Linked DNA regions of Homo sapiens: regions 2, 3 and 4 are each linked to region 1. Evidence: promoter capture Hi-C in human tissues and cell types (Jung and others, 2019). All regions are on one chromosome and are shown on one strand. The core of a region is centred on a gene start or on the middle of the fragment in contact, and the rest is flanking DNA. Distances in the headings are between cores, read along the strand shown. Region 1 overlaps PEAK3 (PEAK family member 3). Region 2 holds the start of SLC39A3 (solute carrier family 39 member 3). Region 3 holds the start of DIRAS1 (DIRAS family GTPase 1). Region 4 holds the start of GNG7 (G protein subunit gamma 7).

Region 1 (6,670 bases), core at 1,852-4,351:
CAGGGAGCCTTCCCTTCCCGTGACACCACCAAGCAATTCTCCACCAGGGACAGGGGCATTCACATGCCCAAAATCACTGGCCATCTTCAGCACAAGGGGGTGCTCCAGAGCCAGGAATGCCTCTGGTCCCGGCATTGGCCTCTCATGGAGACAATGACAGAACCCACGCGGAAGAGCGCCCTGGCTGCTGGGGAAGGCAGAACACAGAGAGACATTGATCAGCGGGGTTGTCCACACCTGGAAGTGGCGTGGGGGCCCTGGCTTCAGAGAGCTGCTGCCCAACACAGGAGGCGCTGGCCAGCCCCCAGCCCTGGAGGGGCAGCTGCATTCCTGGGAAGCCCTTGACCCACATCCCCAGCACGGGAGGGGAGGCTCTGGAGTGGGGCATTGCTCTCTCTGCTGCGCTCCTGGACTCTGCAGGAAGAGGGTGTCTTGGCTATCATGGAGACGCTGACCTCAGCCCCAGCCCTGCCTCCTGGGCAGGCCTGGACCAGGTGTGTTCGCCCTGGGTTGGGGTCAGTCCCACAGCAGCGCCAGGGCCTGGCCCATCGAGGACTCGGTGGCCTCGGCCAGGTATTCGCAACACAGCCAGTCCTCGAGGCTGGGAGCTTCCCCACCTGCGGCCCGCTCTGCTAGGCGCAGGACCAGCAGCCCGCGGCGCACCCGCAGCCAGGGCCCGAGCGCTCGGAGCCAGGGACCAAGCGGTGCTCCGCGGCCGCGCAGCTCAGGCCCGGGCCCCCAGAGCAGCGCCTGCAGCGCGCCCCGCGTCCGGGACGCCGAGGGCCGCAAGCGGGTCAGCTGTGCTGCCAGGAGCTCCAGGCCCGCGGCCAAAGGCGTGGTCGAGGGCGCAGCAAGGCTGAGCAGCGCTCGGAGGAGGCTGCCCAGCTGCGGCGCGTGGGGGCCCGGGGATCCCGGGGGTCCAGGGGGCTGCAGACAGACGCGGCCAAAGTCAGTGAGGAGCAGGCGTGGGGGCCCCGTCGTCGCACAGCCCCGAGGTGCCACCAGCAGCAAGTTCTCCGGCCGCAACTCGACTAGGGCCGCGCCCCACGCCTCCAGGAACTTCAGGGCCGCGCTCAGCTGCAGCAGCAGCAGGGCCACAGCCCACACGAACTCCTCCGGCGGCTGCGTGCAGGCCTCCGCCAGCCACTGCGCCACCGTGCGCTCTGGAACCTCGGCTGCCAGCGCCACTGCGCCTCTCCAGGGCGCCCCGGGCAGTGTGCCTTCAGGCACCAGGCCACACAGCCCCTGCAGATTGAAGTGTGGAGACAGGGAGGCCTGCAGCTCCAGGCCCCACGGGTGGGGCACGTCCGCCCCGGGCTTGGGCACCTGCAAGGCAGAGGGGGTGTCGGGGCCTGGATCACTGGGCCCCCCACAAGCACCGCCTGCCCCAGTGCTACCTGCCCCGAAGCCTCCCACGCACACCCCCAAACTGCCCCCACTACGGCTAGGGGCTGCCTGCATCCCTCCAGCAGCAGGAGGTCAGTGTTAATTTGGAAGTTAGTCACCAGTAAGGACTTTCAGGAAAGTTAAGCCAGGGAAGAAGATGTTCCTGGGCAATGAGTTCGAAAGCAGATTCCTGGGCCGGGCGCGGTGGCTCACGCCTTCCCAGCACTTTGGGAGGCAGGGGGATCGCTGAGGTCAGGAGTTCGAGACCAGCCTGGCCAACGCAGGGAACGCTCGTCTCTACTAAAAAATGCAAAACTAGCTGGGCGTGGTGGCGCGCCTGTCATCCCAGCTACTTCGGAGGCTGAGGTGAGAGAATCGCTTGAGCCCGGGAGGTGGAGGTTGCAGTGAGCCGAGAACGCGCCACTGCACTCCAGCCTGGGCAACAGAGTGAGACTCTGTCTCAAAAACAAAAAACAAAACAAAAAACACAAAAGCAGATCCCCGGCCAGAGAGGTGTGGGAGGGGTTTTGACAAGAGCTCCAAGGCCATACCCATGGCCCCATACTTTAGAAACATGGTTTCCTGGGTTAACTGCGTTGATTCACGTGTTAGTTGCAAAATAAACAAGTCTAATATGGTCTGGATCTGTGTCCCCACCAAATCTCATTCCCCAGTGTTGGAGGTGGGGTCTGGTGGGAGGCGACTTGGATCTTGGGGGTGGTTTATCATGAATGGCTCAGCACCATCTCCCTTGGCACTGTCGTTGGGATAACGAGTGAGTTCTCGTGAGATCTGGCTGTGTAAAGGTGAGTAGCACCTCCTCCCTCCCTTCCTCCTGCTCCCACCGTGTGAGATGCCTGCTCCCGCCTCGCCTTCCACTATGATTGGAAGCTTCCTGAGGCCTCCCCAGAAGCAGAAGCCACCAGAACCATGAGCCAATTAAGGCCCTTTTCTCTATAAATTACCCAGTCTCCAGTATTCCTTTTTCTTTTCTTTTCTTTTTTCTTCTCTTTTGTTTTTCTTTTTTGAGACAGAGTCTCACTCTGTCGCCCAGGCTGGAGTGCAATAGCCCAATTTTCGAATCTCAGCTCACTGCAACCTCCGCCTCCCAGGTTCAAGTGATTCTCCTGCCTTAGCCTCCAAGTAGCTGGGACTTCAGGTGCGCACCACCGCGCCCGGCTAATTTTTGTATTTTTAGTAGAGATGGGGGTTTCACTATGTTGGCCAGGCTGGTCTCGAACTCCTGACCTCATGATCTGCCCGCCTTGGCCTTCCAAAGTGCTGAGATTACAGGCGTCAGCCACTGTGCTGCCCAGCCTTTTTTTTTTTTTTTAGACGGAGTCTCGCTCTGTCGCCCAGGCTGGAGCGCAGTGGTGCGTTCTCGGCTCACCGCAAGCTCTGCCCCCTGGGTTCATGCCATTCTCCTGCTTCAGCCTCCCAAATAGCTGGGACTACAGGTGCCCACCACCACGCCCGGCTAATTTTTTGTCTTTTTAGTAGAAACAGGGTTTCACCGTGTTAGCCAGGATGGTCTGTATCTCCTGACCTCGTGATCTGCCCGCCTCGGCCTCCCAAAGTGCTGGGATTACAGGTGTGAGCCACTGTGCCCGGCCTTTTTCTTTTTTTTTTTTTTGAGACGGAGTCTCACTCTGTTGCCCAGGCTGGAGTGCAATGGCCCAATCTTGGCTTACTGCAACCTCTGCCTCCCGGGTTCAAGCAATTCTCCTGCCTCAGTCTCCCAAGTAGCTGGGTTTACAGGCGCCCGCCACCACACCTAATTTTTGTATTTTTAGTAGAGGCTGGGTTTCACCATGTTGGCCAGGCTGGTCTTGAACTCCTGACCTCAGCTGATCCGCCCGCCTTGGCCTCCCAAAGTGCTGGGATGACAGGCGTGAGCCACCGCGCCCGGCTCCAGTATTTCTTTACAGCAGTGTGAGAACTGACTCACAGAAAGGCCAAATGAAACAAGCCCTGGGTTATGTCTAAGATGGGGCACTGGGGACACCTCAGAGAGGGTGGGGCTGTGGGGCTCACCTTGGCGACCAGGATGTGCCAGGCGTCCTCGTGCGCGCGCACCACGCGGTAATACAGGGCGTCCCCGCTCTCTGCGCAGGGTGAGCTGTCTAGGAGGCGGAAGCTGTGGCCGGGGTGGCAGGGCCCGGGGTGGCCCCCCATGAGCCGGGCACGGAGCCGGGCATAGATGGTACGGAGGCCCTGCAGCTGCCGCGCAGCCAGTGCAGTGTGCACAGCCTCCGGGCTGTGCAGATCGCGGAGGGAGAGGCCCAGTGGGGCGTCAGCCGGGCCAAAGGTCAGCTCTGCAGGGAGACAGGCTGGTCCCACTGCAGCCTGGCTCTTGTCCACACTGTGGGACCCCAGAAAGGGTCTCCGAGGCGGCTGTACTTGGATGGAGCTGGGATGGAGGGTCCTGCGGGTGGGCAGTGACTGGGTCCGGGTTAGGATCTTCTTGGGCAGGGGTGGGGGCAGGGGCTCTGGGTTGGTGGAGAGGGACCCAGGGGTCCGGAGGCGGCAGGCCTTGGAGGGCAGCAGGTGGGCACGGATCTGACCTGCAGGGAGAGACAGTGGGGGAGGGTTGAGGACAGGCGGAGTGGGAACGGGACACGTGACTCCACCTCTCAGCCTCGGTTTCCCCATCTCTAACATGGAAGTAATGAGGCTGGGCGCCGGTGGCTCATGCTTGTAATCCCAGCACTTAGGAAGGTGGAAGCCGAGGCAGGAGGATCACTGGAACCTAGGGTTTGAGACCAGCCTGGGCAACATAGTGAGACCCTGTCTCTGCAAAAATTTTTTAAAAATTTGCCGGACGCGGCCATGCACAATGGCTCATGCCTGTAATTCCAGCACTTTGGGAGGCCGAGATGGGTGGATCACGAGGTCAGGAGATCGAGACCATCCTGGCTAACACGGTGAAACCCCGTCTTTACTAAAAATACAAAAAATTAGCCGGGCTTGGTGGTGGGCGCCTGTGGTCCCAGCTACTCGGGAGGCTGAGGCAGGAAAATTGTGTGAACTTGAGAAGTGGAGCTTGCAGTGAACCGAGATTGTGCCACTGCACTCCAGCCTGGGCGGCAGAGCTTACAGAAGGGGAAACTGAGGCTTATAGGAGGATGGATCAGTTTCAGAGAGTGATGCCACCCAGCACTCAGCGACTCCCACTTACCTCCGTGGCTTTGCACAAGCGTCTGTCTTGCTTTTTTTCTTTTTTGAAGTCTTGCTCTGTCGCCCAGCCTGGAGTGCAGTGGCACGATCTCGGCTCACTGCAACCTCCGCCTCCTAGGTTCAAGCGATTCTCCTACCTCAGCCTCCCAAGTAGCTGGGACTACAGGTGCCCGCCCGCCACTATGCCCAGCTAATTTTTGTATTTTTAGTAGAGATGGGGTTTCACCATGTTAGCCAGGCTGGTTTCAAACTCCTGACCTCAGGTGATCTGCCTGACTCGGCCTCCCAAAGTGCTGGGATTACAGGCTTGAACCATTGCACCTGGCCTTTTTTTTTTTTTTTTTTTTTTTTTTTGAGATGGAGTCTCCCTCTGTCGCCCAGGCTGGAGTGCGGTGGCTCAGTCTTGGCTCACTGCACCCTCTGCCTCACAGGTTCAAGCGATTCTCCTGCCTCAGCCTCCCGAGTAGCTGGAATTACAGGCATGCACCACCATGTCTGGCTAATTTTTGTATTTTTAGCAGAGACAGGTTTTGCCATGTTGGCCAGGCTGGTCTTGAACTCCTGGCCTCAAGTGATCCTCCTCCTTGGCCTCCCAAAGTGCTGGGATTAAAGGGTGGGATTACAGGCATGAGTTACCGTGCCCAGCCTCTCTCTCTTTTTAATGGTATATATTTTTTTCTATTTCATGGCTCACTGCAGCCTTGACCTCCTGGGCTCAAGGGATCCTCCCACCTCAGCTTCCCGAGCAGCTGGGACTGCAGGCTCTTGACACCATGTCCATCTCATTTTTTTTGTTTTGTAGAGATGGGGGGCGGGTCTCATTATATTGCCCAGGCCGGTCTTGAACTCCTGGCCTCAAGGGATCCACCTGCCTCAGCCTCCCAAGGTGCTGGGATTACAGGCGTGAGCCACCACGCCCCGCCCACCAACCCACAGGTTATTTTTCAGCCCTGGCCTACTCCGGGCCTTCCCGGAGGTCACTCATTTTACCAGCTGCTGCTGTTCCCAGAGGCCATGGTGCCCGGCAACCTCCTGCCGCTCCCTGCACCCACCTGCCGCTCCCTGCACCCCCCTGCCGCTCCCTGCACCCCCGCAGCCCAGGGCTCCCTGGGGAGCTGCTTACCAAGGTTGCTATACGTGGGCTGAGTCGACCAGGTGGGGTTGTCGGGCTCGGGGGGCTCTGTGGGGGGCTCCGGGCTGCTCATGTTGCTGGGGAAAGGTCAAACGGGGCGTGTGTGGGGTGACCGTGTGCACGCACAGGGCGACATGGGGAGGGGTCCGTGAGTGCTGGGGCCTGGGAGACCGTCGAGGCCTCCTGCTCCAGGGCCCTTGGTGAGAACAGGCGCACCCACACTCCACTCCCTTGTCCAGTTTTGACCCTGCTGTGTGATCCCGAGTGGGTTTCCTGTCCTCTCTGGGCCCCTGCTGTGTGATCCCGAGTGGGTTTCCTGTCCTCTCTGGGCCCCTGCTGTGTGATCCCGAGTGGGTTTCCTACTCTCTCTGGGCCCCTGCTGTGTGATTCTGAGTGGGTTTGCTGCCCTCTCTGGGGCCCTGCTGTGTGATCCTGAGTGGGTTTGCTGCCCTCTCTGGGCCCCTGATGTGTGATCCCGAGTGGGTTTCCTGCCCTCTCTGGGGCCCTGCTGTGTGATCCCGAGTGGGTTTCCTACTCTCTCTGGGCCCCTGCTGTGTGATTCTGAGTGGGTTTCCTGCCCTCTCTGGGGCCCTGCTGTGTGATCCCGAGTGGGTTTCCTACTCTCTCTGGGCCCCTGCTGTGTGATTCTGAGTGGGTTTGCTGCCCTCTCTGGGGCCCTGCTGTGTGATCCTGAGTGGGTTTGCTGCCCTCTCTGGGCCCCTGATGTGTGATCCCGAGTGGGTTTCCTGCCCTCTCTGGGGCCCTGCTGTGTGATCCCGAGTGGGTTTCCTGCCCTCTCTGGGGCCCTGCTGTGTGATCCCGAGTGGGTTTCCTACTCTCTCTGGGCCCCTGCTGTGTGATTCTGAGTGGGTTTCCTGCCCTCTCTGGGGCCCTGCTGTGTGATCCCGAGTGGGTTTCCTGCCCTCTCTGGGCCCACTTCCTCAATCATGAGGCAGGTCTGTCACCCATCAATTT
Region 2 (6,670 bases), core at 1,710-4,209, 460 kb after region 1:
ACAGCGGGCAGCAGAGCGTTGAAGCACGTGGCCAGAAACACCCCTCCTCCAAAGGTGTTGCAGAGAGAGAGGATCTTTTTCGAGCGATGGGCCTTCTCAAAATCTGTCTCGATGATCTTCACGGGGAGCAGGGAGCCGAGCAGCATGAAGAAGAACACGCCCACCATGCACAGGATTTTGGCCACTAGCAATTTCACCATGGTGGCGGCTTGGGCTGCTCTGGTCACTGCAGGGCCAAACCATCTGTGGGCGCACACCCAAGTCCCACGATGTGCTACCGAGCCCAACCACACAGTTGGAGGCTCATGTCTCAGTCCAGCAACTGTGAACATCAGGGGCACTGCATTAGCTTTCTTTCTTTTTTCTTTTTTTTTTTTTAGACAGAGTCTCGCTCTGTTGCCAGGCTGGAGTGCAATGGTGCAATCTCCGCTCACTGCAACCTCCGCTTCCTGGATTCAAGCAATTCTCCTGCCTAGTAGCTGGGATTACAGACACGCGCCACCACTCCCAGCTAATTTTTTTTGTATTTGTAGTAGAGACGAGGTTTCATCATGTTGGCCAGGCTGGTCTCGAACTCCTGACCTCGTGATCCGCCTGCCTCGGCCTCCCAAAGTGCTAGGATTATAGGCGTGAGCCACTGCACCTGGCCAGTTCTTCAGTTTTGGAACTCGGACTGGCTCTCTTTGCTCCTCAATCTGCAGACAATGTATTGTGAGACCCTGTAATCGTGTGCAATTAATACTTAATAAACTTCCCTTTATATATATAACTATTCCATTAGTTCTGTCCCTCTAGAGAACCCTGACTAATACACTGTCTCAAAAAAAGAAAAAAGTTCATCAAAATTAAAAAAAATCCAGGCTGGGTGTAGTGGCTCACACCTGCAATCCCAGAACTTTGGGAGGCCGAGGTGGGTGGATCACCTGAGGTCAGGAATTCGAGACCAGCCTGGACAACATGGTGAAACGCCGTCTCTACCAAAAATACAAAAATTAGCCGGCCGTGGTGGCAGGCACCTGTAATCCCAGCTACTCTGGAGGCTGAGGCAAGAGAATCGCTTGAACCCAGGAGGCAGAGGTTGCAGTGAGCCAAGATGGCACCACCGCACTCCAGGCTGGGCAACAAGAGCAAAACTCCATCTCAAAAAAAAAAAAAAAAAAAAACTAAATAAAATACAAAATTCCGCTCCTCAGTCTCCCTGGCCATATTTCAAGCGCTCAGTAGTCACACAAGCCTACTTGACTTCTGTGGTTACCGTATTTGACAGCAAAGGGAACACTCTCATCACTGCAGAACATGCTATTGGATGGTGGTGGTCCATGGCTTCCCCATGCCCCGAAATAAAGTCTAAACTCTGTACCCTGAGGCTGAAGCTCTGCATGACAAGCTCCTGCCTCGCCTCGGCCCTCACTGGTCCTTTCTGTGCCAAGCTTGCTCGTGCCTCAGGACCTCTGCATGGGTTCTCCTCTCTCCACCTGGAACACTGCTCTCTTTCCCCTGACCTTCCAGCGAGGCCTCCTTCTTCTTTCTTGCTTCTCTGCATCCAGGACCCCTCAAAAGGGCCTCCCTCGGTTGGGAGTGGTGGCTCACACCTGTAATCTCAGCACTTTGGGAGGCTGAGGTGGGCAGATCACCTGAGGTCGAGAGTTCGAGACCAGCACCTGAGGTCGAGAGTTCAAGACCAGCCTGGCCAACACAGTGAAACACTGTCTCTACTAAAAATACAAAAATTAGCTGGGTGTGGTAGTGGGCACCTGTAATCCCAGCTACTTGGGAGGCTGAGGCAGGAGAATCACTTGAACCCAGGAGGTGGAGGTTGCAGTGAGCCAAGATCAAGCCATTGCACTCCAGCCTGGGTGACAGAGTAAGACTCTGTCTCAAAAAAAAAAAAAATTAGCTGGGCATGGTGGTACGTGCCTGTAATCCCAGTTACTCGGGAGGCTGAGGCAGGAGAATTGCTTCAACCCAGGAGGTGGAGCTTGCAGTGAGCCGAGATCGCGCCATTGTACTCCAGCCTGGGCTGCAGAGCAAGACTCCGTCTCAAAAAAAAAAAAAAAAAAAAAAAAAGGGCCTCCCTCTCTGCCCCTGGCTGACTCCTGCCCTAAACCATATCCCTGTACCCGCCGGAAGGCCTGCTGCAGAACAGATACTCAAAAACCGCTGGCTGAACACATGGACGAGGGGAAGCGTGTGGCCACTGATAAGGGCCGCATTTTACCTGATGCAATGGGCCAAAGTGAAGTCGGTTTCACCCTGGACCCCAAAATGTCACCGTTCTTAGGAGGAATCTCAGCTCCTCCCCTGTCCTTGAGTTTTCCCCAACTGGGTTTTCTCCCCCACCATCAGCCCCAAGCGCCTCATGGCCCCGCTACCTCACTGCATTCAGGTCTTCGGGTCACTGCTCAGATGTCTCCACTCAGAGCTCTCCCCGCCCCCTTCCCTGGTGTTATTTTCTTTTATTTTGTGCTACAGAGGGAGCTAGGAATTACATTATTTTAAGTCATTTAAAGTCGTCCCTCCCCCCCGGCGGTGAGCTGGGCGGGACCAGGCTGTCTGTCTTGCTCAGGGCCAGCTGCACCCAGCGCAGAGCCACCCAGGCACACAGTAGGCGCCCAATAAAGACCTGTCCGGCATCTGGATACCTCAGTCTGTACAGTGAAGGTGAGGGTGGCCTGCACGCTCTCAAACCGGAGGCTGCTCGGGCCGGGATGAGGAGGGCACGGGCTCATTCATTCAATCAGCACTTATTGAGCGCCTTCTGTGTGCCTCGCGCTACCGGGCACCGGAGACGGGCCTCGGCTAACGTGCGGGTAGAGTCCAACAGACCCCCGGCCGCTCAGCGCCGCCCCGCCCCGCCGCCCCAGGTCCTCTCTCTGCCCGCACCTACCTCCCGGGGGCCCCTCGTCCGCCGACTGGCGCCGCTGCACGCCCAACGGCCGCGCAGTCTCGACCCCACAGACGCGGCCCGGAGAGGCCCCGCTCGGCGCGGCTGGTCCACGCCCCGCCCACGCCCCTGCCCATTGGCCTCCCCGAGACCCGCTGGCAGAACTTTCCATACTATTGGCTGCGAAACCTGCCACTCATATGCGACTCCACCTCTCCTACCGGCACAGGAAAGGGGTTTCCTCCCGCTGAGCGGCGGGCGCAGCCACCAAGCGGCCCCGGCGGGAAACCCGGATTGGCGAGGAACGGTTCCGGCAGGGTTGGGTTTCCAGAGCTGTCCAGGGGCGCCTGGTGCTGAATCCCGCTTGGAAAGAGGCTTGGAGGTGGATGGGAAGGGATTTCCAACGGAGGCGGCTCCTCTCTCAGCGTCCTCGCTGCTGATCCCCTTACCGACGGCTGAAGAAGCAGATTCATCCCTTCAACAAATCTCTGTTGATAGGCAGGAGGAGTAAGTCCAAGAGATCGACTGTACATCATGGTGGCTACAGCTCGTAACAATGCATTGCATACTGCAAAATTGCTAAGAAAGTAGATGTTACATGTTCAAACCATGAAAAAATAAGTATAGGAGGTAACGCGTAAGTTAAAAACCAAATCTTGGCAGGGCGCAGTGGCTCACACTTGTAATCTCAGCACTTTAAGAGACCGAGGCGGGAGGATCGCTTGAGTCCAGGAGTTCAAGGCCAGCCTGGGCAGCATAGTGAGACCCCATCTCTAAAAAAAAAAAAAAGGTTTTTTTTGAGACAGAGTCTCGCTCTTGTCACTCAGGCTGGAGTGCAATGGCGCGATCTTGGCTCACTGCAACTTCCGACTCCCGTGTTCAAGCGATTCTCCTGCCTCAGCCTCCCGAGTAGCTGGGATTATAGGCGTGTGCCACTATGCCGGCTAATTTTTGTGTTTTTAGTAGAGACGGGGTTTCACCATGTTGGCCAGGCTGGTCTTGAACTCCTGACCTCAGGTGATCCTCTTACCTTGGCCTCCCAAAGTGCTGGGATTACAGGCATGAGCCACTGCGCTTGGCCTGATGACTTGATTCTAACAAATAGAAAATGGCAAATGAATGGGATGTCATTCTGCGATTAGGCTATGAGAGATTGTGACTTCTGTTTTGCCAGCAGAGCCTGTCTCTCGCCTTCTCAGCCTACGTGTCTTGACAAAGCAAGCTAAGATGCTGGAGAGATCCAGAGGGAAAGGAACTGAGGGTGTCCTCCAGCCAACAGTCAGCAAGGCAATGAGACCCTCAGCACAAGCGTCCATAAGGAACCAAATGCTACCAACAGCCATGAACGTGATCATGGAAGAGGGTCCTGCCCCAGTTGAGCCTTTGGATGACTGCTTCACTTCAATTGCAGCCTTTGAAACACCCTAAAACAGGGCTGCATGTGGTAGCTCATGCCTATAATCCCAGCACTTTGGAAGGCCGAGGTAGGCAGGTCACTTAAAGTCAGGAGTTTGAGACTAGCCTGGCCAACACGGCAAAACCCCATCTCTACTAAAAATACCAAAATTAGCCAGGCATGGTGGCGGGCACCTGTAGTCCCAGCTACTAAGGAGGCTGAGGCATCAGAATCACTTGGACCCAGGAGGCAGAGGTGACAGCGAGCTGAAATCATTACCATTACACTCCAGCCTGGGCAACAGAGTGAGACCCTGTCTCAAAAGAAAAAAAAAGAAGAAGAAGAAGAAGAAAGAAAGAAAAACAAAGACCCTGAAAACAGAAGACCCATATGAACTGCATCTGAATTCCTCACCCACAGAAACTGAGATAACACATGCTGTTCTAGCCACTTAGTTTTGTGTTTGTTTGCTTGTATTTTGAGACAGGGTCCTGCCCCATCACCCAGGCTGGAGTGCAGTGGTGCAATCACAGCTCACTGCAGCCATGACCTCCTGGGCTCAAGCAGTCCTCCCACCTCAGCCTCCCGAGTAGCTGGGAGCATGTGCCACCATGCCCAGCTAATTTTTTACCTAATGTCACACAGGCCAGTCTTGAACTCCTGGATTCAGGAAACCCTCCCACCTCAGCCTCCCAAAGTGCTGAGATTACAGGCATGAGCCACAATGCCTGCTGGCACTAAGTTTGGGGGAAAATTTGTCATATGGCAGTAGGTAACTAATACACATACATACTAGAAAAACTATAGGTTGTACTAAGTTCTGTGAAGAAAGAATGAGAGAGACTTCTGTGCAGGAATTAGCCAAGTCAAATGTACTGAGAAGGCCAGGTGTGGTGGCTCACACCTATAATCCCAGCACTTTGGGAGGCTGAGGTGGGTGGATCACTTGAGGTCAGGAGTTCAAGACCAGCCTGGCCAACATGGTGAAACCCTGTCTGTACCAAAAATATAAAAATTAGCAGGGCGTGGTGGTGGGCGCCTGTAATCCCAGCTACTCGGGAGGCTGAGGTAGGAGAATCGCTTGAACCTGTGAGGTGGAGGTCGCAGTGAACCGAGATCATGCCACTGCACTCCAGCCTGGGCGACAGAGCAAGACTCCGTCTCAAAAAAAAAAAAAAAAAAGAAAAAAAAGTACTGAGAAGTGGGGAGAGAAGAGAGGATAGTTGACAAAAAGATGGAGAAGGGCTTGCTGCATTTGAGGAGTTGGAAAGCCAGCCTGGCTGAATGTTCGTGAGCAGTAGGGAGATGGGAGATTAGGGACAGTCCCATAGACCGTGCTATGGAACTTGGATTTTACCGTAATTACAGTGTGATTCATTGAAGGATTTTAAGTAGGTGAAGGTTGTCATCTAATTTTAATTCTTAAGATTATTTTGACTCGTGTGTAAAGAAAGGCTGAATTATAGAGAAGCAAGAATGGAAGCAGGGAGACTACTTCAGAGCCCTCTGGGCAAGAGTTGGGCTGGGTGCCTTGGCGCACACCTGTAATCCTAGCACATTGGGAAGCCATTGCAGGAAGATCGCTTGAGCCCAGGAGTTCGAGACCAGCCTGGGCAACATAGTGAGACCCTATCTCTATTTCTAAGAAAAGACTTGACGGTAGTTTAGCTGAGGGCATTGACAGGAGAAAGGACAGTGGGTGAATTTGAGAAATATTTTGGAGGGTGAATTGACAGGACTTAGCACTGGTTTGTCTGTGTGGGTTGCAGGAGAAGGAGGTGTTGGGGGTGACTTCTGGTTTTCTGCTTTGAGCCATCCGATGGATTCTGGTGCTCACTAAAATAGGAAAGACTGGAGGAGGCACAGAGATTGAAAGCGTCAAAAGACAGAGTTCAGTTTCACAGAGGCTATAAATGAGACATCTACAAGTTCTTAGCATTTAATGCCATTTTCTGCCTGCGTGGCGCTGATGTCATCATGTGGAACACACTGTTTCTGGTAGCTATTTTTATTATTAGATGCAGAGTGATCTGACTCTGTTTCTGCTTTCCATAACTCACGACAAGAAAAAGATGGCTTGTAACATAAGCACACCAGGTAGACGCCACAGGACGACTCCTTCCTAAGGGGAATTCATAGCATGCGATATTTATTCATAATTGTTTGGAGAATCAGCCTGCTCAGGGAAAGAGCTACGTAAGCTTTGGGCTTTGATTCATTCAGTACGTGTTTTTGAAAACCTCCTGTGCACCAGAAGCCATGTAGGAGCAGATGTCTTCAGAGCGCAACAGAAAAAAAATACTAATAAAATATAAAATAACATAAAAGCAGCACAGTGGTGCATACCTATAATCCCAGCACTTTGGGAGGCTGAGGTAGGAGGATCTCTT
Region 3 (6,670 bases), core at 1,717-4,216, 440 kb after region 1:
ATGGAAGCCGCACATGGTCGGGTGTTTAAGATGCATATGTCAGGGCCGCAGCCCTAGGTGTGATGAATCGGTCGGCCAGGGCAACGGCCCTGGGAACTCGTATTTTATTTTATTCTTCTTATTTATTTATTTATTTTTAGACAGAGTTTCGCTCTTGCTGCCCAGGCTGGAGTGCAATGGCACAATCTTGGCTCGCCGCAACCTCCACCTCCCGGGTTCAAGCTATTCTCTTGCCTCAGCCTCCCAAGTAGCTAGGATTACAGGCATGCACCACAAAGCCCGGCTAATTTTATATTTTTAGTAGAGGCAGGGTTTCTCCATGTTGGTCAGGCAGGTCTTGAACTCCTGACCTCAGGTGATCCACCCACCTCGGCCTCCCAAAGTGCTGGGGTTACAGGCGTGAGCCACTGCACCTGGCCTTCTTATTTTTTTTAAAACCAAGTCTTGCTCTGTTGCCCAGGTTGGAGTTCAGTGGTGCAATCTCGGCTCACTGCAACCTCTGCCTCCTCGGTTCAAGCAATTCTCCTGCCTCAGCCTCCAGAGTAGCTGGGATTACAGGCATGCACCACCACACCCGGCTAATTTTTGTATTTTCAGTAGAGACGGGGTTTCGCCATGTTGGCCAGGCTGGTCTTGAACTCCTGACCTCAGGTGCTCCTCTCGCCTCGGGCTCCCAAAGTGCTGGGATTCCAGGTGTGAGACACCGCATCCAGCTGGAACTTGTATTACAGGGCTGCTCTCCTCACCTGCCATAAATGGGATCCTGAGGCTGGGAATCTGAGAACCACAATTTGCAAATCAGGGCACTGATTCCCAATAGCCGCCCCAGGGAGGAAGGGTCTTGCAGCCCAGGTGGGACACAAAAATACAAAATCCAGAAGCTGAACGGGAAAATCGCCACTCCCTAAACTCTAAAATCAAACTATGGCCTGGTGTGCCCTAGCCCCTCCCGTTCAGGTCTGAAGGATCCTTAGAATAGCACTTCCTGGGAGGGGCACCTCTTAGCCCCTCTCTTCCTTCTTGGGCTCAGAGAGGTCCAGCAGCCTGAGGAGGTCACACAGCACAGCAGATCCTGAAATGATGGAGGTGGGGGAAGAACGCTGGGGGGAGGGCGGGTGGCTTATCTCCAGAATTGATGTCCTCCCCTCCCCTTCCTCCTTCCAGGCTCTGGGGCAGCGGTGGGGGGTGGGGGAGGGGTGTTCCCCAGCAAGGTGGTCTACAGTGGGAGAGGAGGAGGAACCAGTTTCTACCTGCTGCACTGGGGGTGGGGGTGTGTTTATGGGGAGGGTCCAGAGGTTCCCCGGGGGTCAGTGGTTTGAACCTAAACAGGCAAATTCAAGTCCCTAAGCCTCCGTTTTCTCTTCTGTGAAATGCGAGCCACTGTTGGGGCAAGTAAGGTGACAAGGTGGAGAAAGGCCCTAGGCAGTGCCCTGTACAGCGGAGACCCCGATCACAATTGTGATCACAGTCACAAGGGCTTGGGGCCGGTGGGCAGGGCACTTGGCTGTGCCTGTTGGTTGCAAAGGCACCTTCTGGATTATCAAGGGTAACAGATTTGCCAGGAAAAGAAAAGAGGCTGATGAAAGCGCCAGCTGACACAGTCCCCAGTTGTGATGAGCCAGGCAAACTTCTGGGCGCCTCGGCAATGCCAACTCATGTGATTGGCTGCCGGGTTTGTGGACTACATGCATAGTAATTTCTCGGCATTCGGAGGAGGCTGGGGGTGCTGGTGGTGGGGGGGAGGCGGCCTGTGCTGCAGACCCTGCCCTTTCCTGGGTGGGCGCCCTGAGAGGCGGGCACGCTGCTGTGCAGAAAGACGCCACCAAGACCGGCCTGGGGTCCTAATGGCCATGGGTTCTGTGGACCCAGATCCAGCCTTTGCCTTGCTGCGGGCACTGAAGCTCCAGCCCCCATGAGCAGTACTGTCCTCCCCGCTGGGTCTGGAATCCCTGACCAGAAAGGCGCTTGCACTCAACAGCCCCGAAGCCCACGCCACTTCCCACCTCCACCGCCTGGGGGGTGCGGGTGGAGGGAGGGGGTCGTGGGCACCGAGGCAGGAGCAGGAGGGGCTGGCTCAAGGTCACAGAGCAGGGGGGTGGAGGCGCACAGCGGGGCTGGAAGCCCACCCTGCTTGGCTAGACTCCTGGGGTTTCCCGCCTGTGCGGGGCAGCCCACCCCCAGACGTCCAGGCAGGGCCAATCTACCCCAGCCCTGGGTCCCTGAAGCCCGGCTCCCGGCCGGGCACGGCGTGGTTGGTGGGGGCGGGGGTGTCAAAGCAAAGCTCAGGGTCAGGAAAGCAGAGAGAGCCGCGACCCAGGGGTCTAGCGGGGGTCACGCCTGACCAAGGGTGGGGCGGGGGTCTGACCCAGGGCCGCCTGGCCGGTGAGGGGTTTGATGGAGAAAGGGCCTGCTCTAGGGGGCCCGAGGGCGCAGAGGCACAGTGCGGGGCCAGCCCAGGGGCGACCCTTGACTCAGGAGGACCTCAGTGGTGGAGAGGAGGAGCCCACCCCGGGGAGGGGGCGCGGAGGGAGGGGCTTGGCTGGGCAGCGGGGCGGAGGGCGAAGAAGGCGGCTGCAGGAGGGAGGAGGCCCTGCCCGAGGGGACCAATGCGGAGAGGGGCGGCGGGGTGGGCCTCGGTGGGGCGGGCTCGGCAGGGGGGCGCCCTCCGGGTGGGGGAGGGGAGGCGGCCGGGAGCTGTCCAAGGTGAGCGCGGAGGGGCCGGCCGGGCCCGGCGGGAAGGGACGGGGGACGCCCGGCGAGGGGCCCCGGAGCCACGCGGGGAAGGGCCCGGCCCCAAGGCCCGGGAGGCTGGGGCCGGGACAAAGGAGGGACGCGCGGCGGGGAGGACGGCCGGCTGGGGGCTGCGCAGGGACCCCCTCCCCGCCCCGGGCCGCCTACCTGGGCCCGCTGGTCCCTGCGGCGCCGCGGCCGCTGCTCCTGCCCGCTCCGGTGTCCGCTGGCGCCGCCGCCCCCCGCCCGCCCGAGCCGCCGCAGTCGCGCCCGCGCCGTCCCCGCCCGCCGGGCCCCGCGCTCCGCCCCGCCCCGCCCCGCCCCGCCCCGCCCCGGGGACCCGCGCCCACGGGGCCGGCGCGCCGCCCGGCCAAGGTCACCGCCGCCCCACGCGGGACCCCTGCCCGCGCCCGGGGTGGGAGAGGTCGCCAGGATCCGGGACCCCCGCCCTGCCACGTAGCCACCTGCGCGCGCCCTCCCTCGGGGTGGGAGCTGGGGCCGCTTCCCGGGGAACCCCGAGTGGGGGCCAGGAGCCCGGCTTGGGAGGAGCAGAGTCCAGCCGGGGGTGGAGGGCTTTGGCAGAAATGCGGATAAAGGGGGTGCAGAACGGGACCCCTGAGGCCGGCTGGGGCCCGGTCACACGCAGGGCGGGGAATCAGAGGGGTGCGTTGTGAAATGAGTAAGTCGATAATCAACAATCAATGAACAGGTTTAGAAGCGGGCAGAGGCGGGAGGGTTCAGGTCAATGGGGTGCACCTGGAGGCCCACCCATCCCAGGGGCCTGGGCAGGGGCGGGATGGGGGCAGAAGCGGACTCAGCGCTCTGTAGGGCTGGTTTTGTGGAGGCGGAGGCAGCCCATGGCAGTCAGGCCTAGGGAGGTGGGGGGTGAGCAAAGGGGGCTGGCGCTGCTCTGCAGCGGATGGGTTTGCCGTTTTCGGTTAGGAAAATGTTTGTGTTCCCCCAACAGGAGGTGTCTTAGGGGAGCACTGGCTTTTCTGATGCGTCTGTGTGTCCACAAGAGACCATGGTTCCGCCTCCATTTTGGAGACCGGGAGGCCGAGGTTCCTTTTGGCCTCATCGGGCAGATCCCAGAGGAGACTGGACTTTGGGGTCTAGTGACCAGGCCAGAAGGTGCTCTCAGGGGTGGGTGCGGGACAGTCCCAGGCCGCAAGGCTGTCAGAGGAAGGCGCCCCTTGGTGGAGAGGCCAACTCTGGGACCCACAGGGGTCTCTCCAGAGTCAGAGCCATCAGTGGGTGAGAGGCTGGTCTGGAAGGTGGTGAGCTCCCCATCACCAGGCCTGTGAGCAGGTGAACCCCTTGGGCCCTCAGCTCCTGGGGTTCTCCATGACCCACCATTTCCATGGCCCTGGATGAGGTGGGCCCATCTGCCTCTGCGGAGACTTGGCACTGCCTCCAAGACCACTCAGTCCCCTCTCCTGTTGCCACTGAGGCTGGGGCACTGAGGTTCAAGCGGCTTTGGGGCTCAAGGAGCTCTATTTCTCCCTGATTTGACCCCACTCCCCCTCCTGGCCTCCAGACCCCTTCCTCCAGCCCTCCTTCCACTCTGCCACTCAATGCTCCAACTGCAACATGGGCCTCCCCTGCTCTAACGCCACCCATGGCTCCCTTCTCCCAGGCCAAGGTCCAGCTTCTCAGCCTGGCATCCATGGCCCGGCCTGAGTGCTCCTGGCGTGCACCTCCCTCCCACCCTGACCCCAGCCCTGCGGGAGCACCTCAGAGCATGGCCCGGCCCCTGACCCTCATCTGGGGGTGCCCTCAGCAGGAGATGGAGACAGCCCTGAGGGCAGACAAATCCCAGCTTCTGCTCTACATGGCTGCCTGCAGGGAAGTGCCTTCTCAAGCATCGGTTCCCCCATCTGTGAGTGACGTCACTGTTGCCCGCCTGTAGGGTTGCTGGGAACACATGGGCAGGGCGCCCACCTACACGGGGCTGCTGGGCACCCAAGCACTCAGACGGCAGCCCTGCCCCTTCCCAGTCCGCCTGCCTGCCTTCGTCTCCTGAGTGACCCACCAGCGTGGGGCAGGGCGTCGGGCCGGCTCCCTGTCTCCTCCGGGCACCAGCTCAGGCCGGGGCAGGCTGACTCATGCGTAGGAGAGTGGGCAGGGCGGTAACTCCACGCTGCGGCTGCTATTTATAGCTCCCAGGCCAGGCTGTGGGCCGCGTGAGCCGGCGAGGCCAGGCCCTGTTCCCCTCCTCGCTGTCCCTGAGGAACGGGGTCTCCACACATGGCCCGCGGTGCCCAGGCCACAGATGGCAGTGAGCTCTTCCGAGCACCCAAACTAGGACAGCAGGAGCTTCTCCCCCATGGTGGGCCGGGGAGCAGAGGGTTCCGCCTGGCCTTTGTGAGTGGGGGTGGGTGGGCGCCCCAGCTCTGCCTCTCCATGGAAAGGTCCGTGATCCAAATCTCAGGGGCCAGGGCACTTGCACACTGGGGCACTGAGCAAGCCGGGGCTGGCACTGGAGTTTCCTGGGTTCCCTGCTGCCTCTCATACCCGAGTCCCTCTTTGGAGAGTCCCTCGGCATCCTGAGAGGCACAGAGGTGGGCGAGGAGGACTGAGGCCGGCTGCATCTTTGCCAAAGAGAAGAGGACCTGTCAACCTCTCCAGCTCGCGAGCTGGGCAGGATCCACAGGCGTCCACGTTGAGTCCCCAGGGTGAAACCCACCGGGGCAGTCTGCATGGGTCCTGCAAACACAAAGTGCCAGTGTAGTGGGTGCTGGGCCCTCAGCAGTCTGTACAAGGCCACTGTCCCTGCTCCCATCTGGAAACTGCTGCTCAGAGAAGGGAAGCGGCTCGCCCACGGTGGCCTAGTGGGAAAGAGGTCGGTCCGGATCCATCAGGCTCTGAAGCCATAGCCCAGCCTGCTGGGGATAGACGGCCACCCCCTTGTGATCCTCTTGCCCTGTCCCTGGCTATCTGCAGTCTTGTCCTGGGGACACTCGGCCGGTCCTGCCTTACAGATCTCCTTTCAGCAGAACAGCAAGGGACGGCGTTCATCTGCAATGTCCAGCTCCTCCCCCGGCCCTGCAGCTCCACGACCGCTCTCCTCACCCTGCTGCCCTGACCAGGGCCACGTGGGCCTCACTGAGCCCCGGCTAGCCTTTGGAGAGGAGGGCAGTGGGGTCCGGCCTCAGCTCTCTTCAGTGGTCTCTGGACCATGTGGGCAAAGCCGAGGTTGCACATCCTGGCCTCAGGGGGCAGAGTCACCCCAGGGGCTCAGCCACACAGTTGCTTTTCAAGTTTAGCATCTGTCAATCAATCAGTCAATCAATCTACCACCTATCTATCTATCATCTATCAATCATCTATCTGTCATCTATCAATTAATCTATCAATCATCATTTATTAATCATTTACCTATTATCTATCAATCATCTGTCACCTGTTCATCTATTATCTATTAATCATCTACTTATCTATCTATCTATCGAGACAGGGTCTCACTCCGCCACCTAAGCTGGAGTGCGTGGTGAGGTCGCAGATCACTGCAGCCTTGACTTTCTGGGCTCGAGCAATCCTTCCTCCTCAGCCGCCTGAGTAGCTGGGACTACAGGCACACACCACCAGGCCCGGCTAATTTTAAAAAATTTTTCTCGGCCGGGCACGATGGCTCATGCCTGTAATCCCTGCACTTTGGGAGGCTGAGGTGGGTGGATCACACGAGGTCAGGAGTTCAAGACCAGCCTGGCCAACATGGTAAAACCCCGTCTCTACTAAAATTATAAAAAATGAGCCCAATGTGGTGACATGCACCTGTAATCCCAGCTACTTGGGAGGCTGAGGCAGGATAATCACTTGAACTTGGGAGGCGGAGGTTGCAGTGAGCTGAGATCACACCACTGTACTCCAGCCTGGGCAACAGAGCAAGACTCTGACTTAAAAAAAAAAAAAATTCTCGAGACCATCCTGGCTAACAAGG
Region 4 (6,670 bases), core at 2,398-4,897, 420 kb after region 1:
GTCATCTTCCAATGCTTGCAACTGACAACTTCAGGCCATCTTCTAAATCAGTACTAAGTGTTCAAAAGCCACATAAAAGGCCCACCTAGAAAGGAGTAGCCTTTTTTTTTTTTTTTTTTTGAGACAGAGTCTCACTCTGTGGCCCAGGCTGGAGTGCAGTGGTGCAATCTCAGCTCACTGCAACCTCTGCCTCCTGGGTTCAGGTGATTCTCCTGCCTCAGCCCCCCAAGTAGCTGGGATTACAGGCGTGTGCTACCACGCCCAGTTAGTTTTTGTATTTTTAGTACAGATGGGGTTTCACCATGTTGGCCAGGATGGTCTTGAATTCCTGACCTCAAGTGATCCACCCACTTCGGCCTCCCAAAGTGCTGAGATTACAGGCGTGAGCCACCGCACCCAGCCATAAGTAGGCATTTCTAATGTTTTCTAAAAGCAGTGAGACCTTACTTCTCCCCTCTCCGAATGACAGCACTAAATGACTTAAAAGCAATCCTCAATTCTGAATGACCCCACTTCCTGCACATCAAAGGGGAGATGAGGTCGTTAAAGGAGAAAATAAATCAGTTTTGTCTATAACAAGGGTTCCACACTGGAGTATCTCTGTCCCTACAGGACGCTGGGTGATATCCGGAGACATCTGTGGTTGTCACAATGCGGGGAGCTCCTGGTGTGGAGTGGGTGGAGGTCAGGGATGCTGCTCGGCACCCTGCAGTGCCCAGAAGGCCCCACCCCAGAGGACAATCAGATCCCAAATGTCCGCAGCGCTGGGATAGAGAGACCCAGACGCACCCCATGAACTGAAGTTGTAAACTCAAAATTTCAAGCGTATAATCACAGCTCGATGTGGTTCCTTACGGGGTGCCCCTAATCAGAATGACCCAGGCAGCCTTCTCTTGAACAGGTGCATCTGTTACTTAACGAGCTTTGAGACTCTCCTGCCACCAGGTGTGGGCAAAGTCTTCTTTCTTTTCAGTTTTTTACTCACTTTTAATAATATGGAAACAGGCTCCATATTTGAGACTCTGTCTCAACATAATAATAATAATAACAATAATAATAAGACATATTTTTGTTGTTGTTGCAGTCCTTTTTTTTTTTTTCCTTTATTTTTTTGAGGCAGAGTCTCTCTCTGTTGCCCAGGCTGGAGTGCAATGGCGTGATCTTGGCTCACTGCAACCTCCACCTCCTGGGTTCAAGCGATTCTCCTGCTTCAGCCTCCCAAGTAGCTGGGATTACAGGCAAACGCCACTATGCCCAGCTAATTTTTGATATTTTTAGTAGAGACAGGTTTTCGCTATATTGGCCAGGCTGGTCTCAAACTCCTGACCTCAGGTGATCCACCCGCCTCGGCCTCCCAAAGCGCGGGGATTACAGGCATGAGCCACCACAACCAGCCATGCAGGTTATTTTTTAAAGCTTCTGGGGGTGACCCTGATGTGTGCTCCTAAGGTTGCAGGACTAGAGTCAAGTTCCAGTCACTTCCTTTCCTCTCCTCTGTGACAACCCAGTCATCCCACTCCTCCATCTCCAAACCCACCAAAGAAAAAAACTGGATTGAGTCCATTATTCTCCATGCTTCAGGTACCCTCACTATATGCTAGGAAATAGTCCATGCATACATCCCGTAATTCGACCCTGAGAGGCACATGCTACTGTTTTTATTATTCCCGCTTTGCAGGGGAGTAAACAACACCTCCAAAAGATGATACAGCCAAATCCGCAGCGAGAGGCTGGGTCGGAACACACACAGGCGCACCTCCCAGAGGCCCCCGACACTCCATCAAGGCAAGATCGCAGCATCCCACGACGGGAACAAGTTTGTGAACTTGGCATTTGCCTCGCTGACACCTAGCAACCGTGTGAAGACGCTTAGCTGGGGATCCGCTGCCTCTGTTCATCAAGCCTGTCTTCCACCGCCCACCTCCCAACCCCTAGCAACCCCCGCTCCCCAGGAAAAATAAAGTGCCACCCACGTCGCTCAATAGCACCGTCCCAAAAACTCCCACTTTAGTTCCTGAAAAATTCAGTCACCGACAGGAGCCTTTCTCCTTCCTGAAGCGTTCTCCTTGGCACCCTATATCCTAGAAATAAACCTCAAAAAGTATTCCGAACTCCCGTCTCCTTCAACTCACTGTTCCCCAGGGGGTTCTGCCCCGTGCCCAGTTCTAGAGCAAACAATTAACATCTCCCCCAAAAGTAGAGGGGTGAGTCCTCTCCAAATTCCTTTTAACTGGATCCTACCTGAGACACCTCCCCACACCCCGTTTTCCTCCTGATTAGTCAATGTCTAGCAAAACACCTGCCCCCAGGTGTCTCCAGCCTGGGACCTTACCCCCACCTCCCTTCTCACTAACTCACCCCAACTTCCTTCTCCCTGAACCCCCTTCCACCCCACACACTCACAAGCTCCCCATTTCCCCTGATAGCCCCCAGACCCTTTCTGGAACAAGCCTGACCCCCACCTGTATGCTCCAGCCACTCCCTGGCTCACCCCAGCTTTGTCCTTCTGCCCCTTTTCAGCTAACCCTAACCCCTGGGCCGTCAATCACACCCCCCCATCTTCACCAACCCCATTCCTCAGTCCTCTCCCCAGACAACCTCAACATCTAATTCCCTCTGCAGCCCCCTCTCCAATGAACCCCACTTCAAACTCCATCCCCAGCCCCCTCTCCAGCTCCCTGCAAACCTCAACCCCACTCCCAGCTCCCTCTTCAAAGAAGCTGCACCCTTGACTCAACCCCTGTTCCCCGCTCCAATTAACCTCAACCCCCAACACCATCCCCAGCGTCCTCCCCAGCTAACTCAGATTTCCAATTCCACTTCCAGCCCCCTCCCCAGCTAACCTCGACCTACAATTCCAGCCCCCTCCCCAGCTAGCTTGGACCTCCAATCCCACTCCAAGCCCCCTCGGCAGCTAACCTCGACCTGCGACTCTAGCCCCCTCCCCAGCAAACTCAAGACCTCCAATTCCACCACCAGCCCCTTCCTAGCTAACCTGGACCTGCAATTCCAGACCCCTCCCCAGCCAACTCAGACCTCCAATCCCGCTCCAAGCTCCCTCCCCAGCTAACCTCGACCTGCAACTCCAGTCCCCTCCCCAGATAACTCAGACCTCCAGTCTCACCCCCAGCCCCCTCCTCAGCTAACTCAGACCTCCAATCCCACCTCCAGCCCCCTCCCCAGCTAACCTGGACCTGCAACTCCAGCCTCCTCCCCAGCTGGCCCTGATTTCTAAGTGGAGTCCCAATGCCCAGACCCAATCCTTCCCCAGCTAACCTCGATCTGCACCCCCTGCCCCGTCCCCAGCTAACCTCGACCTGCAACTCCCGCCCCCTCCCCAGCTAGCCCTGAGCCCCAAGTGCAGTCCCAATCCCCAACCCCAGCCCCTCCCCAGCTAACTTCGACCCCCTAAGCGCAGCCCCGTCCCCAATTCCAACCCCAGCCTCCAGTTGCAGCCCGGGTCCCCAGACCCAGCCCCCCTCCTCAGCCGACTCCGACCCCCAACTCGGTCCGCAGCCGAATCCGAGCTGTCCCAGTCCCCTCTCCGGGACGCCGGCCGCGCCCTCACTTCCCCTGGCCCGGTTCGCGGGCGCCCTTACCTGCGCTCGGGCCCCGCGGCCGCCTCAGCCCCGCCGCGCAGCCGAACCCTCCGCCCCGGCCCGCGAGCGCTCGCTCCCCTCTGCGGGGGCGGGGCCGACACTCGGGGGGCGGGCCCTGGCGTCCCGGCAAGGCCAATCGCGAGCCCCGGCTGCGGGAGGCCGGAGCGGGGGCGGGGCGCGGGGCAGGCAGCGGGGTAGGCTGCGCCCAGGAGAGTGGGGCGGGGCTCCGGGCGCGGGCGGGGCCGGGGGCGGGGCGAAGAGCGGCTTTCCAGGGTGACTTCGTGACGTCAGGAAGGCGCGAGTAGTTTCGCGAGTTCGAATCCCGCGCTAGGTGAGCTGGTTCGAATCCTGCATGCCAGCTCCGGGGGCTCATTTGCTGGGGAAGAATGTCAGTGATCATAACTGCTGCACCGCTTTCTTGAAGACTTTATAGGCTCCCTCTCGTGGGACCCTCCGCATAAGGCCAGAAGGCGAGATTACTATCCACATTTTACAGAGGTGGAAACTGGGTCTCAGAAAGGTGAAACCTAAGGTCATTTGCCCAAGCCTGTCTCATCATTTCCAAGATTTCTCAGTTTCCTAACTCATGGCCCTGGATCCACAAATTCCTGAGCCCCAACACAGATGGAATGAACCAGAATCCTATAGGGAACTGGACCCTGAAATCTGTGTTTTGTTTAGTTTTCGTTTTGTTTTTGAGACAGGGTATCACTCAATTGCCGTGGCTGGACTGCAGTGGTGCAGTCATAGCTCACTGCAGCTTTGAAGTCCCAGGCTCAAGCAGTCCTTCCACCTCAGCCTTCCGGGTAGCTGGGGCCACAGGCACGCACCACCACATCCAGCTAATTTTTGTATTATTAGTAGAGACAGGGTTTCACCGTTTTGGCCAGGCTGGTCTCCAACTCCTGACCTCAGGTGATCCACCTTTCTTGGCCTCCCATAGTGCTGGGATTACAGGCGTGAGCCACCGTGCCTGGCCCTGGCTAATTTTTTTTTGTTAGAGATGGGGTCTTGCTATGTTGCCCAAACTGGTCTTGAACTCCTGGGCTCAAGTGATTCTCCTGCCTCTGCCTCCCAAAATGCTTGGATTACAGGCCTGGAATCTTCATTTTCCACAAGCTCCCTTGGGAATATTGGAAAACACTTTGTATGTCTCCAAAAGCAGTACACAGCCCTGGAAGGAAGATGGAGCCACCATATTCTGTGACCTCAGGGATTTCATCAGGCGCTGACACTGTGTGTCCTTGCCGCCCCACCTGAGCCCTGGGATTGGAGCTGCTGGCCAAAATCCAAGATAAACTTCCCCAGGGTTCCTGTCATCCCTGCAAGAACCTCCCTGCTCATCCTCTGGACTCCAGTGGCCTGCCCTGCAGGGCACAGAGAAACCTCCATCTCCCTGCTTGCCCTCCTCCAGGCTCTCCCCAGCTGGCATCCCCCAAGAGGAATGACTGTCTAGATAGAGCTTGGGAAGGGCACGGTGGCTCACGACTGTATTCCCAGCACTTTGGGAGGCTGAAGCGGGAGGATCGCTTGAGCCCAGGAGTTCAAGACCAGCCTGGCAACATACTGAGACCGCAACTCTACAAAAAAATTAAAATATTAGCCAGGCCTGGCGGCGCACACCAGTAGTCCCAGCTACTTCGGAGGCGAAAGCAGGAGGATCGCTTGAGCTTAGGAGGTTGAGGCTGCAGTGAGCTTTGATCACACCACTGCACTCCAGCCTGGGCGATAGAGTGAGACTCTGTCTCAAAAAAAAAAAAAAAAAGTGTTAAATACACAATGCAATATGATTCGGCCATAACAAAGAATAAAACCCTGTCATTTGCAGCAAAATGGATGGGACTGGAGGTCATTATATTAAGTGAAAAAGTGAAATAAGCCAGACACAGGAAGACAAATAGGGCATGTTGTCACTGATACGTGGGAACCAGAGAGTTGATCTCATGGAGGTAGAGAGTAGAATGATCAATACCAGAGGCTGGAAAGTTGTGTAGGTTGAGTGGGGGGGAAATGAAAAGAGGTGAGTTATGAGTACAAACATTCAGTTAGACAGAAGGAATACATTCTAATGTTTGATAGCAGAATAGGATGTATTCTGCTATCAAATATAGTATTAGAATAAATTCTAATGTTTGATAGCAGAATAGGGTGACTGTAGTTAGCAACAATGTATTGTACATTTCAAAATAGTTAGAATAATGGTGGCTTACGCCTCTAATCCAAACACTTTGGGAAGCCAAGGTAGGAGAATCCCTTGAGGGCAGGAGTTCGAGACCAGCTTGGGCAACATAGCGAGGCTTCATCTCTATTTAATTATTATTATTATTATTATTTTCTTTTTTGTGTGTGTGAGATGGAATTTCGCTCTTGTTGCCCAGGCTGGCATGCAATGACGTGACGTCAGCTCACCACAACCTCCGCCTCCCGGGTTCAAGCGATTCTCCTGCCTCAGCCTCCTGAGTAGCTGGGACTACAGGAACGTCCCACCACGCCAAGCTTATTTTTTAGTACAGACGGGGTTTCACCGTGTTAGCCAGAATGGGCTCGATCTCCGGACCTCGTGATCTGCCCATCTCGGCCTCCCAAAGTGCTGGGATTACAGGCGCCCACCCGGACACAGTGGCTCACGCCTGTAATCCCAGCACTTTGGGAGGCCAAGGCGGGTGGATCACCTGAGGTCAGGAGTTTGAGACCAGCCTGACCAACATGGAGAAACCCCGTCTCTACTGAAAATACAAAATTAGCCGGGTGTGGTGGCACATGCCTGTAATCCCAGCTACTCGGGAGGCTGAGGCAGGAGAATGGCTTGAACCCAGGAGGCAGAGGTTGTGGTGAGCCGAGGTCGTGCCATTGCACTCCAGCCTGGGCAACAAGAGCGAAGTTCTGTCTCAAAAAAAAAAAAAAGCTAGAAGAGAGTCCTTGAATTGTTCCCAACATATAGAAATGAGAAATAGTCTAAGTTATGAACACCCCAAATACCCAAACATGATCATTATATATTTTATGCATATAACAAATACCACATGTACCCCATACATAGATACAAGTATTTGTAACAATTTTGAAAAAGT

Evidence for each region. The method cuts DNA at HindIII sites, captures the fragments that hold promoters and counts their contacts. A contact is called where the count stands out against the background at its distance.
Region 2: the fragment with the promoter of SLC39A3 here is called in contact with a fragment that was not itself captured in region 1 in 1 of the 25 tissues and cell types used here (dorsolateral prefrontal cortex).
Region 3: a contact is called between the fragment with the promoter of DIRAS1 here and a fragment that was not itself captured in region 1, in 5 of the 25 tissues and cell types used here (dorsolateral prefrontal cortex, heart left ventricle, lymphoblastoid cells and 2 more).
Region 4: a contact is called between the fragment with the promoter of GNG7 here and a fragment that was not itself captured in region 1, in 2 of the 25 tissues and cell types used here (dorsolateral prefrontal cortex and lymphoblastoid cells).

What each region holds. Positions count from the first base shown.
Region 1 is chr19:2,275,164-2,281,833 of GRCh38, forward strand. PEAK3 (PEAK family member 3) reads right to left here. Exons shown (of 4, transcript NM_198532.3): 2 at 5,687-5,772; 3 at 3,421-3,950; 4 at 1-1,326. The coding sequence starts at 5,768. The coding sequence ends at 517. Among named protein-coding and RNA genes, the nearest start is that of PEAK3, 3.7 kb to the right of the region's middle. RefSeq lists an enhancer at 1-822. The HindIII fragment of the contact is 7,382 bases long and covers 1-6,670 here.
Region 2 is chr19:2,737,058-2,743,727 of GRCh38, forward strand. It overlaps SLC39A3 (solute carrier family 39 member 3), which reads right to left and starts at 2,960. Exons shown (of 3, transcript NM_144564.5): 1 at 2,888-2,960; 2 at 1-322. The coding sequence starts at 200. RefSeq lists silencers at 2,056-2,323, 2,732-3,131 and enhancers at 2,442-2,491, 3,192-3,241. The HindIII fragment of the contact is 11,347 bases long and covers 152-6,670 here.
Region 3 is chr19:2,718,406-2,725,075 of GRCh38, forward strand. It overlaps DIRAS1 (DIRAS family GTPase 1), which reads right to left and starts at 2,967. Exons shown (of 2, transcript NM_145173.4): 1 at 2,899-2,967. RefSeq lists an enhancer at 5,172-6,084. The HindIII fragment of the contact is 24,571 bases long and covers 1-6,670 here.
Region 4 is chr19:2,699,047-2,705,716 of GRCh38, forward strand. It overlaps GNG7 (G protein subunit gamma 7), which reads right to left and starts at 3,648. Exons shown (of 5, transcript NM_052847.3): 1 at 3,600-3,648. RefSeq lists a silencer at 3,544-3,933. The HindIII fragment of the contact is 6,266 bases long and covers 687-6,670 here.